Linked DNA regions of Homo sapiens: region 1 is linked to region 2. Evidence: promoter capture Hi-C in 16 types of primary human blood cells and fetal thymus (Javierre and others, 2016). All regions are on one chromosome and are shown on one strand. The core of a region is centred on a gene start or on the middle of the fragment in contact, and the rest is flanking DNA. Distances in the headings are between cores, read along the strand shown.

Region 1 (2,700 bases), core at 41-2,540, 40 kb after region 2:
GGGGCCACGTCCGGGGCCCGGCCATTGCCCACCCCCCTCTCTGGCGGCGCTACCGCCGCCGCCTCCTTCTCCGGGGCCGCTTGGGCCTTTGGCTCCTCGGGCGCGGGGCTGGCTGCAGTTGCCACGGTGCTGCCATTCTCCAGGGCCGCGTGGACCGTAACCTCGGCCTGGATCACCTCCCCGGGCGCCGACTCGGCCTCCGACTCCCCGCTCTCCTCCACCTCCACCGGCTTAATCTTGCGCACCTCCCGGGGCTTGGGGGGCGGCCGGGCAGGGGCCACTCGGTGCTGCGGGGGCTGCTGCCCTGCGGGGCATCGCTCTTTCTCGGCCGGGGCATCCCCCGACGGGGCGGGCGGCGGCGGCGGCGGGGGCTGGAACACCCGGGACCGCTTGCTGACCAGCTTCGAGTTGACCTGGGGAACCCCTGCGGCCCTGGGGAGCCCGGGCCCGCGGTGGAGGCCGGTCCTCGAGTCGGCCTTCTCGAAGACGGCGCTGAGCTGGCTGACCGTGGGGGACACGGCGTCAGCGTCCAGCTTGTCCAGCGCCTCGGTGCTGCCGTTGAAGCGCACCACGACGTCCAGCTTCCGGTCCTGCAGGCCGGCGCGCTCCTGCCTCAGCAGCCGCCGCGCCGCGGCCTCCTTGTCGCCGCCTGCGGCCGCTGGGGCGCTCCGTTCGAACAGCTTCCGCGTCTCCTGCAGCCGGGACGGCGGGTGCGGCGGCGGCGCAGGCTGCGCGGAGGGCGCGGGCTTGGAGTCGAAGCGGCTCACGCGCTCCGACACGCTGGTGCCCAGCTTCAGCAGGGCGCTGTGGTCCACGTTCTCGTTCAGGCTGCTGGCCCGCGGCAGCGACAGGCGCACGCCGCGCTCGGACGCCCGTGGGGCCTCGGCCAGGCCCGCGCCGCCGCCCGCCTCGCCCGAGGGCCCCGCCGTCGTGCCCATCTGCAGGAACATACTTTTGATGCGGTGGACGTTGGAGCCATATTTCTTGTGGTGGGCCCCCTTGGGTGCCTCGTCGGGCCCGGGCGCGTCGGGCGGCTTCAGCGCCTGGATGCCCGCCTCGTAGGCGCTGCGGTGCGGGGAGGCGCTCCGGAGGGGACCCCCGGGCCCCCGTGGCTCCGTCTTCATCATGGTGGGGGGAGCCGGGTTCGCATGCCCCTGCTCCCCGCTCCCCCGCTTCAACAGGCGGCTGGCCAAGTCGGGACCACCGCCCCCTCCCCCCGATAAAAGAAACCCCGAAGGCCTTTTTTAGGGTCCCCCCAAAACCAAGCTGCCAAAAACAGTTAATCCCGCTTTAAAAAAAAAAATGAAAAAAAAAAAATCTCCAAGCGCCCTGTGTGTGGGTCGCCTCCCCCAATCAAGCTGCCGAAGACAGCCAGCCCCGCTTCAAAAGCCCGAGCGGCCTGGTACGGTCGCCCCCACCCAAATTAGCAAAGCGGCGTCTGGGGCCGGTGGGAGCGCGCGCCCTGCCCGCGAAGCAGCCGCGGTGTCGCCGGCTCACATCGTCCGAGACGGTGTCAGCGGGGCTGGCAGCCCGGGCGTCCCCCAGTCCGGCCGGAGGCCTCGGCTCTCGGGGGGCCCGGCACCCCAACGCCCATGGCTGCTCCGCCGGCCCGGGCCGCTCCGCCGCCGCGCCTCCCTCCCTCCCTCCCTCCCCCCCGTGCCCCGAGCCTCGGTCTTTCTCTGGCTTTGCCCGAGCGGCGGCTGCCGGAGACCGAGCGGCTGCCCTTCTCGCAGCCGCCGCTGGGGGACTGGCACCTCTGGGTCCTAAAGGGATCGGATTTCCGGGGCCGGAGCCTGTGAGCCCTCCCCTTCCCCTCCACCCGAACGGATCCCCTCCCCTCCCCAGCCCTCGCGGAGAGCCTTCCGCTGCCCCCGGACGTTGGCCAGCACTCTTCAACCTGCTTCCATCACAACTTCTGACTGCGGTCACAACCCACAGAACCGCACCTCCATGAAATATTGGGGGGAGGCAGTACATCCACGATGGTCTCAGTGTGAGGGGAGGGGGTTTGTAGGGAGGGGCAGAGGTTCATTCTTCAGTGTCCTCGGAGCTAGCTCTTCGGTGTGCTTCAAGCCTTTAGCATCAGAATCGCTGGGCACTTGGTAAAAATGCAGATTTCTGGGATCTCTCTCGAACCTTGTGAAGGAGAATCTCCGAGGCTGAACCCAGGAATCTGCATTTTAACACTTCACTACAGGCAATCTTTGGCCCCCTTGGAGGTGTGAAACCTTGGTCCAGCGCTGGTGACCTTTCGATGGTGGGGGAGGGGTGGTGAAGAAAGGAGGTGAACCCCGTCATCCAAGTAGCAGGGGATCACCAAAACTGCCGAAGTCTGGAAAGGATGTCCTGTCGCCTGTCTGCTGTGCACCCGTCTTCAGGCCCCTACCCTGGCACTCCTGCCTCTCAAACCGGAAGGAAGGGTTTGGGAGCAGGAATTCGAGAGGCCTGGGGCCAAAGTTTCGCCAGTGAGAGCTCTAACTTGGGTCTCTGATTTAAAGGATCCTGGCCACTGTGTTCCGGTTGGGGTGGGGGGGTGGGGAGGGTGACAGTGACTTACACATCCCCTGTCCTGGCAACCCAGAAAGCTGTTTGATGCCCTCTGCACCCCCCGCATACACAGCTAGGGTGCTGGCGCTGCCTGGGCCCTGGGTGTGAGAGTCCGCCCTCTGGACAGGTCCAGGTGAGCTGGTTCATTCCACA
Region 2 (2,700 bases), core at 84-2,583:
ACTGAGGCCCGGAGTCCGTGACTTGCTCAGGGTCACACAGCCCAGCCTCCTCCCCCTCCCTCTCCCTCCCTTAGAGGGAGCTGCTTGCTTGAATGGGCAGGAGCGGGACACAGGAGGGACCACCCTTTTGTGGTCTTTCCAGGCCCCCGTGTCTGGCAGCTGGGCTGCCGCTGAGCTGGGGTGGGGTGGTCTGCTGAGGAGTGGACAAGGCACAGGGAGGTGGGAGGGGCTGACCCTGACACTCCCCAGGCCCTGTCCACGGACTCGGTGGAGCGCCTGCCTGTCTACAACAAGTCAGCCTGGCGCCACTACCAGACCATCCAGGAGGCCGGCGACTGGTGTGTGCCCAGCACGGAGCCCAAGAACACGTCCACGTACCGCGTCAGCTAAGGGCCGCCGTGCATCTGCACCTGAGAGGACGGACTGCCGCCTCTGGGTCCCCCCACCGTGGTGCCCCTCACCATCCTCCTGGGGGAGCAGGGGGTGGGTTCTCCCTGATGACCAGGTTCTGTCTCTATGGAAGTCACTGCGGTGATAGGTCTGTGATGGTCCCTAAGTGCCAGTCCATCTCTGTGGAGACCCCTCGGTGGCCTCCCTATCTCTGTGGGCGATGCCTGAGGGTTAGGGATGTCTCCACCCTGATGGGGTGTCCCAGAGACATTTTCCCATGGCAGTCCTCCTCTCTGAGACCAGGGCTGTCACTTTTCTGCCAGGGGTACTGGGTCCCCCTCAGCACCCTCCACAGCACAGGCCTTCCAAGTGGATGTCCCGTTGCCTTATTCCCCCAGCCCACAAAGGCACCCTGGCCTTGGCCTGCTGAAGTGTTAGGAAGAGGGTGGGTGCCCTCCAGACCTGGGGACTGAGTGGGGAAAGGAGTTACACCCGTGAGTGGGGAATGAGGCTGGTCCTGCAGCCTCTCCCTCCGCTCAGGGCTTGAAGGTCGGTGGCGGAGGGGGTGGCTCTCACAGGGCCCAACTCTAAAGTGGAAGAACCTTGTTAGACCGAGAGCTTGCCATCCAGCCAAGCTGCTCGAGGCCCTGCAGTGGCCTTGGCAATGTCTGTGCCACCTCCTGAGCCCTCCCAGCATGTCCTCACATGCTCATGCCCACCCGCTCCTCCACAAGCCTAGTCCATCCTGCCTGAGCTCCAGCCCCCAGCCCCCACTGTGCCCAGACATGTGTGCTCAGGGTGGCTTTCTCCCTAGGACCTTCTGTGTATATAGTTAGTTTTATAACCCTGAATGCCCCCACCCTTCCCCTAAGCACACAGGGGTTAAAGCTGTGTGTCCCTCCCAGTGGCTGTGGCAGTGACAGTGACACCCACACCCACAGTAAAGAGGAGACTGAATGAGACTGGCCTGGCTGCATCCCTGGGGGAGGGGACCCACACGTGCGCACGTACACACGCACACTGCGGTGCCCTGTGACCACCACATGACGCACCGGGGACGTCCGGCCCAGCTCAGGACTGTGAGTAAAACACTGGGCAAAGCCATCTGTTCAGAACGCCGGATGGCCCAGCACCTGGTGACAGACCTGTTGTCCCACCATACTCAGGGCCCAGCAGAGTCCGGCCAACCCAACAACTGGAGCAGACAGAAATTCTGGTCACTGGCACATCATAAGGATTTATTGAAATAAATTGAGAACTGCCTCCCCTTCACATGCAGGTGGGCACCCACTATAGCTACTGATGGCTTTAAGGATGTGGGTGCCTTCCAACCTCCCATGGCCCTGCCACCAGGCCCAGATGGTGCCAGTGTCCTCATATCTGTTTCCCTCCGAAGCCCCTCTCCCAGCACAGATAGCAGAGGGGGGATAAGGGCTGAGTCCCAGGTACAGGGTGCTGGCCGTAAGCCACAGCCCCTGGGCAGGAATGAGGGAGCCAGCATGCATTGGTGCCATCTGCCGCTCTGTCTGGGCAGATGGGAGGAGCTGGAGGGGTTTCCAAGCGGGAGCCCCCAGGCCTCATCGGTAACTCTGACCAGTGTCCTGGAAGCGGGACTAGCTGCTGACCAGCGCCACACATGAACACTTCCTCCAAGGACATTTCCTAAAAAGGACACATGCTGTCCCCAGGCTGCTGGTAAACTCCACCCCCATCCAGGGAGCTGGCCCCAGCCCTCAGTGTGGCCCAGGGAAGCAGAGCTTGCACCGCCTGCCAGTTCTGAGCCCACTGATTCCCTGACAATGCCTGGGGCAGATGGGGGAGGGCTGATGAACCTTTCCAATCTCGTAGCTGCCGGGGACCCCCAGGTTTTGCCTCTCTGCCTGGCTGGGGTGAGGGCTGACCAGGTCAGCAGCTCCTAGGCCTTGGCTGGTGGAAGTGGTGTCCTCTGTCCCTATCAGTTCCTGTTTGCTCAGCTCCCAAAGAGGACTTAGGTGCCCTCTGAGGAAGCAGCAGGAAGTGAAGGGAGTCCTGGCTTGGAGAATGGGTCAAAGACCAGGTCTTGAATGGGCCCTGAGAGGCAGACCTGTGTGGTGTCATCTCGCCCCCTGGGACCCACAGGACAGAGGAGGGGAGAGGGAGAAGGGGATGTTCATCCTCCCCTCTTGAGTCCTGGCAAAGACTGCACTCGCCCCAGGCTGCTTTCTCTGCGCTCCTGTTGAGGAGTTTGGCTGGGAGTCTACCCTGAGTGCGACTTGCTGCAGCGCCCACTGGCCTCTTGGGGGAGCAGGACAGAGCTCTCCCACCACACAG

What was found. Contacts are between HindIII fragments. The CHiCAGO score rates a contact against its expected background, and 5 or more counts as called.
Region 1: a contact is called between the fragment with the promoter of PPP1R9B here and a fragment that was not itself captured in region 2, in 2 of 17 cell types (megakaryocytes and endothelial precursors). The highest score is 9.9, in megakaryocytes.

The regions. Positions count from the first base shown.
Region 1 is chr17:50,149,387-50,152,086 of GRCh38, forward strand. PPP1R9B (protein phosphatase 1 regulatory subunit 9B) reads right to left here and starts at 1,291. Exons shown (of 10, transcript NM_032595.5): 1 at 1-1,291. The coding sequence starts at 1,127. All of the region lies in intron 1 of LOC124904025 (a long non-coding RNA gene), which reads left to right. RefSeq lists silencers at 643-752, 1,402-1,491, 1,562-1,651 and an enhancer at 1,662-1,956. The HindIII fragment of the contact is 4,765 bases long and covers 1-2,700 here.
Region 2 is chr17:50,109,708-50,112,407 of GRCh38, forward strand. It overlaps PDK2 (pyruvate dehydrogenase kinase 2), which reads left to right. Exons shown (of 11, transcript NM_002611.5): 11 at 250-2,445. The coding sequence ends at 390. It overlaps SAMD14 (sterile alpha motif domain containing 14), which reads right to left. Exons shown (of 10, transcript NM_001257359.2): 10 at 333-2,700. Among named protein-coding and RNA genes, the nearest start is that of PDK2-AS1, 8.7 kb to the left of the region's middle. RefSeq lists an enhancer at 2,090-2,700. The HindIII fragment of the contact is 8,208 bases long and covers 1-2,700 here.